2 separate regions of the Homo sapiens genome follow, and region 2 is linked to region 1. The links are contacts of gene promoters, found by promoter capture Hi-C in blood cells and fetal thymus (Javierre and others, 2016). All regions are on one chromosome and are shown on one strand. Each heading gives the region's core, a stretch centred on a gene start or on the middle of the fragment in contact. The rest is flanking DNA. Distances are from core to core; before and after follow the strand shown. Region 1 holds the start of PRKRA (protein activator of interferon induced protein kinase EIF2AK2). Region 2 overlaps TTC21B (tetratricopeptide repeat domain 21B).

Region 1 (4,855 bases), core at 207-2,706:
AAGAGCTATATAAAGTTCTGGCCTGTTTTTAAGTAATTTTGTGGCAAAAAATGAATTTTACCTGAGTGCTGAAATGTTTTGCCATAGGTGTTATGCGGAGTTCATATATTGTGAAATACTGACTATGTAGCCCTTCCAATAAGATATCCATTAAAACAGTGATGGATAGTAATCTATATACATACATATATAGACGGAGAGGAAGAGAGAATAGGCTCTAATTAAAGCATCAGATGATATAATTTGATTAGATTCTGAACATCTTTCACTTGTTTCAAGCATCCAGGGCTTACATGCTAACAAAACAACAAATCGCTTTTTTTTTTTTTTTTTTTTTTGAGAGGGAGTCTGACTCTGTCGCCCAGGCTGGAGTGCAGTGGCGCGATCTCGGCTCACTGCAACATTTGCCTCCCGGGTTCAAGCGATTCTCCTGCTTTAGCCTCCCGAGTAGCTGGGATTACAGGCGCATGCCACCACGCCCGGCTAATTTTTGTATTTTTAGTAGAGACAGGGTTTCACCATGTTGGCCAGGCTGGTCTCGAACTGCTTACTTCAGGCGATCCGCCAGCCTCGGCCTCCTAAAGTGCTGGGATTACAGGCGTGAGCCACCGCGCCCGCCCATAAATCACTTTTAATAATATCCTTTCGTACGAATAGCATTGTGCAAGCAATCTTCCATAACACCGAGTAAGCACAGGGGAGCATTTCTGCTAGTGCCTAGCAAGCCCCTGGAGAAGCGACACGTCATCTAATGGCCCACCAAAGGTGCTGCATCCCAGGCAAACGCCATTACAACCGACTACCCAGGTCCCCGGAAAGGCCTTCGTTTACTCCTAACGTGTTTTGCTGGGATGCACTGACCCAGCGTTCCATCTCGCGACGAAAGCCCAGAAGACAAAGGAGCCCGCCCGGCGGGAGAGGAGCGGGTGTTTGGACGTCCCCGCGTGTTCCTAAACACAGGGCTCGGGGACCCGAAGAGCGCACCGCAGCCCCCTGGAGCGTATATATCCGGGGTCTCAAGCTTCAGGACCAGGCCCGGGAGACTCCCTGGAATTCTGCCTTCGTAATTTTAGAATCTTTTTCTTAAAGTGACCCAGCCCCCAATCCGTCCTCCCCACAAAGGCTTAACTTTAGGCCTCAACGACCCTAGACCCACGCCGGACAATCCCTCTAATCCCTCTCTCCCGGCAAGAAACGGCCTCCTGCTAAGGACAAAGAACTGCGGCCTAGGGGCCAGTTACTACAGGCTGGTCAGGGCCGGCAGGGGCGGGCGCGGAGAACCCCCGGGAGCCCAATGCCTGTGCCCACGCGGGAGCGGGGCGGAGCCGGGCGGGAAGGGGGCGGACCCTGGAAGGGACAGGGGCGGAGTTGGGCCGGGACGGAGGCCCGCAGAGGAGCAGCGAGGGGGCGTAGCCGGAGCTACGGCACCAAGGCTCCGCCCCCACCCTGCCTGCCCCCTCGCTGGAGCAACGCAAGCAGGAGGCGGGGGAGTCGGAGGAGGTGGCGGCGCTGGAGCTCCTCCCGGGGACCAGCGACCCGGGGAGCGAGCACGTCGCTCCGCACCGCTCTTCCTCCAGCCGCTGAGCCGTCCCTTCTCGCCATGTCCCAGAGCAGGCACCGCGCCGAGGCCCCGCCGCTGGAGCGCGAGGACAGTGGGACCTTCAGGTCAGCGTGCGGGCAGTCAGGGCCCCAGGGCCGGGAGCGTTGGGCGGCAGGGCCGGGGCGCGGGGAGCCGGCCCTCCAGAGGCATTCTGGGTAAAGCCGTGCCCGGCGCCCACGCCTCCGCGGCTGTGGGTGCTCGGCCCCGCCCTCTCGGCGGCGAGGGTTGGGGTCTGCGGCCGGGCCCCGCCCCTCTCGTGGTCCCTGGCGGCGCGCGGGGCGGGCGGAGGTGACGCTCGGTCGGCGCGCCCGGGAAGGGATCGTCAGGTTTTCCCTGAGAGGCTGCGGCGCTGCTGCCAGCCCTGTTCTGTTGAGAATCTCTCCTACCCGCATTCAAGTGCTCTCTCTAAAGACCTCGCTCACCCCGCCTGCTCCTGCGGAGTGACTGCCGCAGCGGGGCCGGAAGACAGGTGCGCCCCAGCCTCGCCAGCTCTGGCCCTGGCCTCCGGGGAACTCGGCGCCTCCCTCGTCACCGTCGGTGGCGGTTAAAACTGGCCTCTACGCTTCTGCTTCAATCTCCAATTTGGCATGCAAAGCACACCTTTTTGTGGTTTTTGCAGTTTGGGGAAGATGATAACAGCTAAGCCAGGGAAAACACCGATTCAGGTATTACACGAATACGGCATGAAGACCAAGAACATCCCAGTTTATGAATGTGAAAGATCTGATGTGCAAATACACGTGCCCACTTTCACCTTCAGAGTAACCGTTGGTGACATAACCTGCACAGGTCTGTATACACAGTTAACCTGGATGACCGAGTGGGTTGGCAGTCAATACTTGGTGTTGCTTTTCAGTTCGGAAAAGTTCTCTTTTTGCCAGACAGCTGTGAGGAACAGGCTCTGAAACTGAGACCTCTCATCTCAGGTCGTTAGGGCTTTTCAGCTGCATCTGATTCTCTTCCTAATTTTCTCTTCCCCACATACCAAGGAAGCTTAGAAACTAAAAAGTTACCCAGCCGGATGGCTGGATCCTGCATGGCTCTTCTCATACCCTAGGATCCTCCTAGGGTTCTTCTTAGAATTAGAGGGAAGCAGGAAAGGTTCTTGGAGCAGTCATAGCTGGGTCAGTAGGTACTGTGAAGTTTCATAGATTATAGCGGATGCCAGGAGGCATGACCCCAGAATTTTCTGAGCGTCTCTCCTCTCTGTATGGACTCATTTGGCACTTTAGGTCCATTGTGCTACTTTTGATTCTGTATCCAAACAAAATGAGGAAGGGGAGAAGGTCCTCATATATTACATAATAACTTCTAGTTTTTGAAACTGAACAGATATTTTGTATATTATCCACTTTTTAAACAAGAAGAAACAGGTTCAGAGAGATTATAAGTAACATGCGTATAGCAATGAAGTCACAAAGCAATGAAATTTTAAAGTTCATGCTTTCTTTTGGTCTGTGAGCTTGAGCAAATGATAACTAAAGTTGCTCATTTGTAAATGTGGACATTATTTTTCTTATGTATCTATTTAATTGCAAACACAGAAAACATTGGATGCTAAATTTAATTTGGAAGAATGCCAAGAAAAAAATTTAGTAGGAAGGCTCAAGTTCTACCATCTGGAAAATCTGAAGACAGCATTTGTTTGTGTCCCTGGAAGTTTGGAGTCTTTTATTTTAATTGATGCCACTTTAAGAAAAGTTTAAAACTTTTTGTGTGAGGCAGTTAGATTGTAGGTGCTGGCCGGAAGGGTCCCCATGGGAACCATAGAGTCAACACTGCATTACTTACTTTAGCTAGTCTATTTCTAGATAGGAAGAATTCAAGAAAAGGGAGGGTTTTTCCCTCTCAATGTGTTTTAGACCCCAAATTAACAACCTATGGCAACCGTTCTGCCTACGCCCTCTTCTCACACTACCATGGCTTCCTGTGCAAGCTTATCTGCCTCCATGGCTTCTGATACTGTCTAAAGACTAATATTCTGAAATGTCTGTCTACATCCCAAGCCCAGTTACAGAATAGTGTATCAGTCTGTGCTTGCTGAGCATCTTTGCCTGGATGACACAGAGGCCCCTCAAGCCTCTCATTGTCCCAAACTGAATCCATCTTTTCCCTCAAACCCATTCTTCTTGCATTCCCTTTCTATGTAAAGGCTCCACAATCACCTAGTTCAGTAGAAATGTAGGCTTTTGTCTTCCTAACTACTTCCCGTCTTTCTCCCTCTTGTCCAGTCTGTTATTAAACTCTATCCATTGGCGTTTAATAATCCACTAACTATCCATTGAATCTGTCGGCTTCTCTCTTCTGGCCATTGCTACTGCCTAGGCCACCATCATCTCTCACTTGGATTGTAGCTGCAGTCTTGTAGCTACACGTTTACCTTCTAGTCTTGTGATGTCCTTTTGTCACATTACAACCAGTGTTCATTCTTTTTTTTTTGAGACAGGGTCTCACTCTGTCACCCAGGCTAGAGTGCAGTGGCATGATCTTGGCTCACTGCAACCTCCGCTACAGCCTGCACTTAGGCTTGTTGTAACATATCCCATTCCATACTTCAGGTGCCTATTAACAGACAAAAATCCCACACTACTCTGTTGGCTCTTGAGGGCAGGGACCCTGTATGCTATATCCCTAATACCTGTGTTAGCAGATAAATATATGGTTTCTGTGTCTTCTTACACTTGAGGGCCACACTTGAAGGCCACACTTGAAACTTATTCCATGAGGGTATGGGAGTTTGAACTTAAAAGGAAAAAGATGGAATTTATCATTTGCCATTGTGATTGCTTACTGAAATTAGACATCAGTCTTATCCCCAGTCCCAACTTAGCTACCCATGCAGAAGATACAGACCGTCCAGAAGATACATAACAAGCTGTCACCTTATTCCATAAAACTCTTTCCTGTTGTACCCAACACATAATCATGACTGCTCAGCCTAGCAAAGCAGTTTGATACGTTATAGGACAGGCTGTCAGAATAAAATTATGCACATTTTGCTATCAAACAATTCTGCTGTAAATGGTTCCTTTAAAAGAAACTTCTTGCTGCAGAAGAATTTCCCCTCCAGGAATAAAGGAAGAGTAAAATACTAATCTGCATTTCTTCAGAGGTGTGACACGGTCTACTTTATTACCATGTTATATAATAAACATATATAATGTAGAAATAAGGATTTTTATGCAGGTATGCATAGAATTATATAGAACTTTAAAAAGTTATTTTTTAAAATTTTTTCACATGGTGAATATTTTA
Region 2 (4,993 bases), core at 2,355-4,854, about 13 Mb after region 1:
GGAGGGGTCGTTATTTTAGGGTGATGGTCTTCTCTGTTTATCACTGACTCATTCATTCAGCAAATATTAATGACGGTCAACTTAAGAAAGGCTGATATAAAACAGTTAAAGACATGAGGCTTGAAAATAAAATAACTTTTCGGATGTTGGTCTTCTCTATTCATTTGTTCACTGAATCACTCGTTCAGCAAATATTTATGAAGGGTTACTGTATGTCCATTAGAAGCTGGAGATAGCAGTGAGCAAAACTGAACAGTTTCTGCCTTCTCAGATTTTACAGGCTAATTAATGCTGGGGAAAAACCCTAATTCAGTTGACTCAACAAATATTTACTGAATGCCTCCTATGTGTCTAGCACTGTTCTAAGCACTGAAATAATAAAACCAAGAAAAACTCTTCCAATCTTGGAGCTTACATTTGAGTAGGAGGAGTCAGACAACAAGTAGGTAAATGAAATGTGTATCCTGTGAGATGGTGATAAGTGGATGGAGGACAATTTGGCGATGTAGGAGGTTAGGGAATGCTGAAATGTCTTGTTTTTCTGCCTGAAGTTTTACATTATCCTCTGTTCTAGCTATCCCCCTATATCCTTACATTTTTTTATTCCCTTAAATGTATTATTTGCACTGCCACCCAAATGAACATTTTAATAAAAACACTTTAATGTAAAATGTAAAAATGGGCCTCCTCATTACTTAGACTTGAGGTTCAAGTCCAAGTACTTAATATGAGGCTTTTCACCCCACCTTCGTCTCCAACCTCATCATCCAATACTCTCTGTCTCACTTAAGCCTCCAGAGCAGAGAATAGCAAACTTTCTCAACAAAGGGCCAGATAGTACACATTTTAGACTTTATGGACCGTATGGTCTATCACATCTAATTGGCTTGTTCAAAACAGCCATAGACAATACTTAAATGAGCATGGCTGTGTTTCAATAAAACTTTATTTATGAACACTGAAATTTGACTTTCATGTAATTTTCATGTTATGAAATATTTCTTTTTTTTCCTTGACAGCTGGAAAATATAAAAACCATTCTTAGTTCACTGGCTGTACAGCCAGCCAGCCAGATATGGCCCACAGAGTGTGGTTTGCCAAACCCTGCTCTAGAGTATGGAGTGGCTTTTAGTCATCTTCATCACCACTGCCATCCCAATGTACCATTGATGACTTGTTATCTGTGTTGTTGCAGTTCCTCTTCCTAACTCCTGTACCTTCCTCAAGAATCATGAAAAGGAAATAGGAAGAGCGTGTACGTGTGTGGAGGGAGAATGAGGGGTTTGCAATTCAAGAGTCAGCTCTGAAATCCTCCCCAATAATCTTTCCCTTGATTTTAGTCATCCATCCTCCCCTCACACCACATTCAGTTTTCAATGCTGTCAAAATGTTGCTATCCCACATTCCCAAAGGAGTTTATAAGCTCTTTTCTTACATTTACTACATTATATTTCAGTTAGTCTTCAGATTACAGTCTCATCTGAAAAATGTAGGTTTTCCGGGGGGACAGGAACCATGTCTTACTCATTTTTCTATTCATAGTAGCTAGCCCAGTGCCTGGGTACTAGTAGGCAGTCAGTAAATGTTTTGGATTGAATAACCTAACCTGAACCAAGGCAGTAGCATTAGGTATGTTTAGTGGGAGGTAGACTGGAGAAATAGAAGAACCTACTAAGTGGTTAGACTTAGAGAGACTGGGCAAATAGGAAGGGAGGATTCATGAGTAGCAGGGTAGCAGGTGGAAAATGGAAATATGAATCTGGAACATAGACAAGAGGTCTTGGCGCAGGACACATTTTTTTTTTATTCCATTAACATATGGGATGCAGAGGAACTTATTTTTTTCAGAATAGAACTCTTATACTATGATATCTTAATTAATTCTCACAGTGACCTGTACATTTGCATTACTAACAGCATTTTATAAATGAGCAGACTGAGGCGTTGTAAGAAGGACCAGAGATTCTTTTTGCCTTTAAATTCGCGTCCTTTTTATGGTGCTATGCCACTGCCTTTCAGGAGGATTATAGATGCTTAGTGATAGTGTGCAGAAGTCAAGTAAGGTATTAAACGTGTCCTTAGTTGTGGCAAAGTAAGAAGTCATTCTGCAACTTTAGGGAATGGAGCATTGGAGGAAAACTGTGTTTCACTGAAATGTGTTGTGGGGGTCTGGAGATGGGGTATGGAGCACACTTTTAAGAAACATGGCTAAAAAGGAGGTTAGGGAGCAGTGATCACAAGGAGGGAGGCAGAGTAAAATTACAGAGAACAGTCGCCTAACTGATCTAGAGAAGTACATGGACTATAGCCCTCCAGAAGCAAGAGACTATATAAAACAGAGCTGTCGGACGGGCGTGGTGGCTCACGCCTGTAATCTCAGCACTTTGGGAGGCCCAGGCGGGTGGATCACTTGAAGTCAAGAGTTCAAGACCAGCCTGGCCAACATGGGGAGCCCCATCTCTACTTAAAAATACAAAAATTAGCCAGGTGCGGTGGGGTGTGCCTATAGTCCCAGATCAGGAGGCTGAGGCAGGAGAATCGCTTAAACCTAGGGGGCAGAGATTGCAGTGAGCAGAGATTGCGCCACTGCACTCCAGCCTGAGTGACAGAATCTCCAAAACAAAACAAAACAAACAAACCAGAGCTGTCTAGATACCCTTAGATTTCAATCCTGTCACTTAGTCACCTGTATTTCTCACTGCTACTGAACAAGCTGTAGAGTCCAGGTAGGTAGGTATGGGGTGGCCCAAACTGCTTTCTGGTGAATCAGGTGTATCCTAGTGATGGTGGGAAAGTGTGGTTTCTGTCTTTGATGAGGTTAGCAACCAAGCCTTAGACATAATCGTAGGAAAAATGGTAGACAGCACAGGCCCATTTTTATTCAGAAGTTAGTAGGTCCTGATAGTAGTTTTGTCTTGTATATGGAAATAATATAACTTTGGAAAAAGCTTAAAGACAACGATTTTCATTGAAAAATAGTTTATTTATTCTTAACTGACAATTTATTTGTCGCAGAACTCAAAGCCGAGTAAGATAACATTTGATGATATGTTGAAGAATTAAATTTGTCATTACTTTGTAATGCTGTAATAAAATACTGGATATTTTAAAAAGAAGATTTTTTTTTTTAAAGAAACCTATGGTCTGGCAATGGAAGCCTCTTGTCTTTTTTTTTTTTTTTTTAGTTCCTGTTTATTGTCTGCCTTTCTGTTTTCTAAAACGTTCAAGAAAATGTGGGCAAAGGAAAAAAGGTGAAAGCAGCCTCATTTCGGTGCTGTTAACAAAAACTTAGGAAAAATAATTTAAATTATTAGAAAACATTGAATTATTTCAGTAATTTTATGATCATTCAGTTCTGCAATCCTTAGCATTGAGTTCTAGCCATTAATAGTATTTTAAGAAACTTGGAAGAAAAAAGTCACATTGCCTGAATTTTACATTATTCTAGATGTTAGATTATTATCTGCTTCTTAGAGTATTTCAGAGCACCAGAATTCCTTTATAACATTTTTTCATTATTTCCATTTAGACTTTGATTAATTACTATTGTCAAGAGAGATATTTCCATCATGTATTACTGGTTGCCAGTGAAGGAATTAAGAGGTATGGAAGTGATCCAGTCTTCAGGTTTTATCATGCCTATGGCACATTAATGGAAGGTACGTGTTAATCATTAAACATGTTCCATCAGTTTTAAATTCTTGCTTTGCACTAAGAACAGTTTTTCATATCATAATCTTGATTTTCAGGTAAAACTCAAGAAGCTCTTCGAGAATTTGAGGCTATTAAAAATAAACAAGATGTATCACTTTGTTCTCTACTTGCACTGATATATGCCCATAAAATGAGTCCTAATCCAGGTATGATATTTAAATGCAATGCTTAGGACATTTTTTCCTATTCAGTTTATTTTTATTTTTCTCAGTTACCAAGTCATTCAGTCTGATCACACTATATTATGTATTTTCTGTAGGTACAATTTATACATATGTTTATCTTCCTGACAAGGGTGTAAATTCATCAGGCACAAGAAATGTGTCTTATACTATTTTCGTGTTCCTTATATCCTCTGGCAGAGGTTTCATTAGTACATAGGGATTTTTTTAGATAAAAGGGAATGTATATTAGTAATTGTTACACAAAAAAAGGACAGCCAAAGAAACAGGTACCGTATGTACATAAATTGCTCTGCAGCAGCCAAGTTTACAACTTTTGTGCAAATATACAGCCAATGCAGTTTATTTCTGTATATTAAGCTTATTGAGAGCCTTAAAACCCTTTATGAGGGCTAGCTCTTGGGAGATATTCAGCAAATTTTTATGCAGTAGTAGGTTGACTAGATTCTGACTAGATTATAGAAGGAAATTTATACATAAACCAGCAATTAAAGTTGTGTAAACTGCCAGGCACAGTGGCTCAAGCCAGTAATCCCTGCAACTTGAGAGACTGAGGTGAAGGATTACTTGAGCCCAGGAGTTCGAGGCCAGCCTGGGCAACATAGTTAGACCTCCATCTCTAAAAAAAAACAGAAAATAAAAAATAAAGTTATGTGAACTGTCTTAATGTATAGTTAATGGCGAAGGCAGAAGAGTATCCAAATTGTATGTAATAAAGAAGAAGTAGTGTTATATTCTTCCATAAATATATATCCAGTAACAGCTAATAGGATTGTAAATATAGATTGTGTTTCAAAAAATTACATAATAAACAAAGGTCACAGACTGGTTCCTTGAATATTAGACGAGACTTTTTTCTAAAGCCAAGTATGACATACCTCCTTCATACATATGCAAATCAATACAAAGTTATTTAAAACATGTAAATATGTGCTTAATTTCTTCAAGAAACTGTGCCTAATACAGTTACAAGCTACAAAAGAATTCTAATAAGTGGTTCATGTCATCAAGTTGGTAATCTAGTGGAGAAAACAAAATGTAAAAAACACAAAGATTAAATTCCAATGTTTCTATTAAATAATACAAAATGAAACATG

The links. The method cuts DNA at HindIII sites, captures the fragments that hold promoters and counts their contacts. A CHiCAGO score of 5 or more calls a contact.
Region 2: a contact is called between a fragment that was not itself captured here and the fragment with the promoter of PRKRA in region 1, in 1 of 17 cell types (non-activated CD4 T cells). The highest score is 5.6, in non-activated CD4 T cells.

Annotation. Positions count from the first base shown.
Region 1 is chr2:178,447,776-178,452,630 of GRCh38, reverse strand. PRKRA (protein activator of interferon induced protein kinase EIF2AK2) reads left to right here and starts at 1,456. Exons shown (of 8, transcript NM_003690.5): 1 at 1,456-1,665; 2 at 2,220-2,389. The coding sequence starts at 1,601. It overlaps PJVK (pejvakin), which reads right to left and starts at 1,253. Exons shown (of 7, transcript NM_001042702.5): 1 at 862-1,253. RefSeq lists a silencer at 1,184-1,963 and an enhancer at 1,726-2,300. The HindIII fragment of the contact is 1,572 bases long and covers 1,024-2,595 here.
Region 2 is chr2:165,948,261-165,953,253 of GRCh38, reverse strand. It overlaps TTC21B (tetratricopeptide repeat domain 21B), which reads left to right. Exons shown (of 29, transcript NM_024753.5): 2 at 3,530-3,659; 3 at 3,750-3,860. It overlaps TTC21B-AS1 (TTC21B antisense RNA 1), which reads right to left. Exons shown (of 4, transcript NR_038984.1): 4 at 4,933-4,993. Among named protein-coding and RNA genes, the nearest start is that of TTC21B, 3.0 kb to the left of the region's middle. The HindIII fragment of the contact is 1,308 bases long and covers 2,951-4,258 here.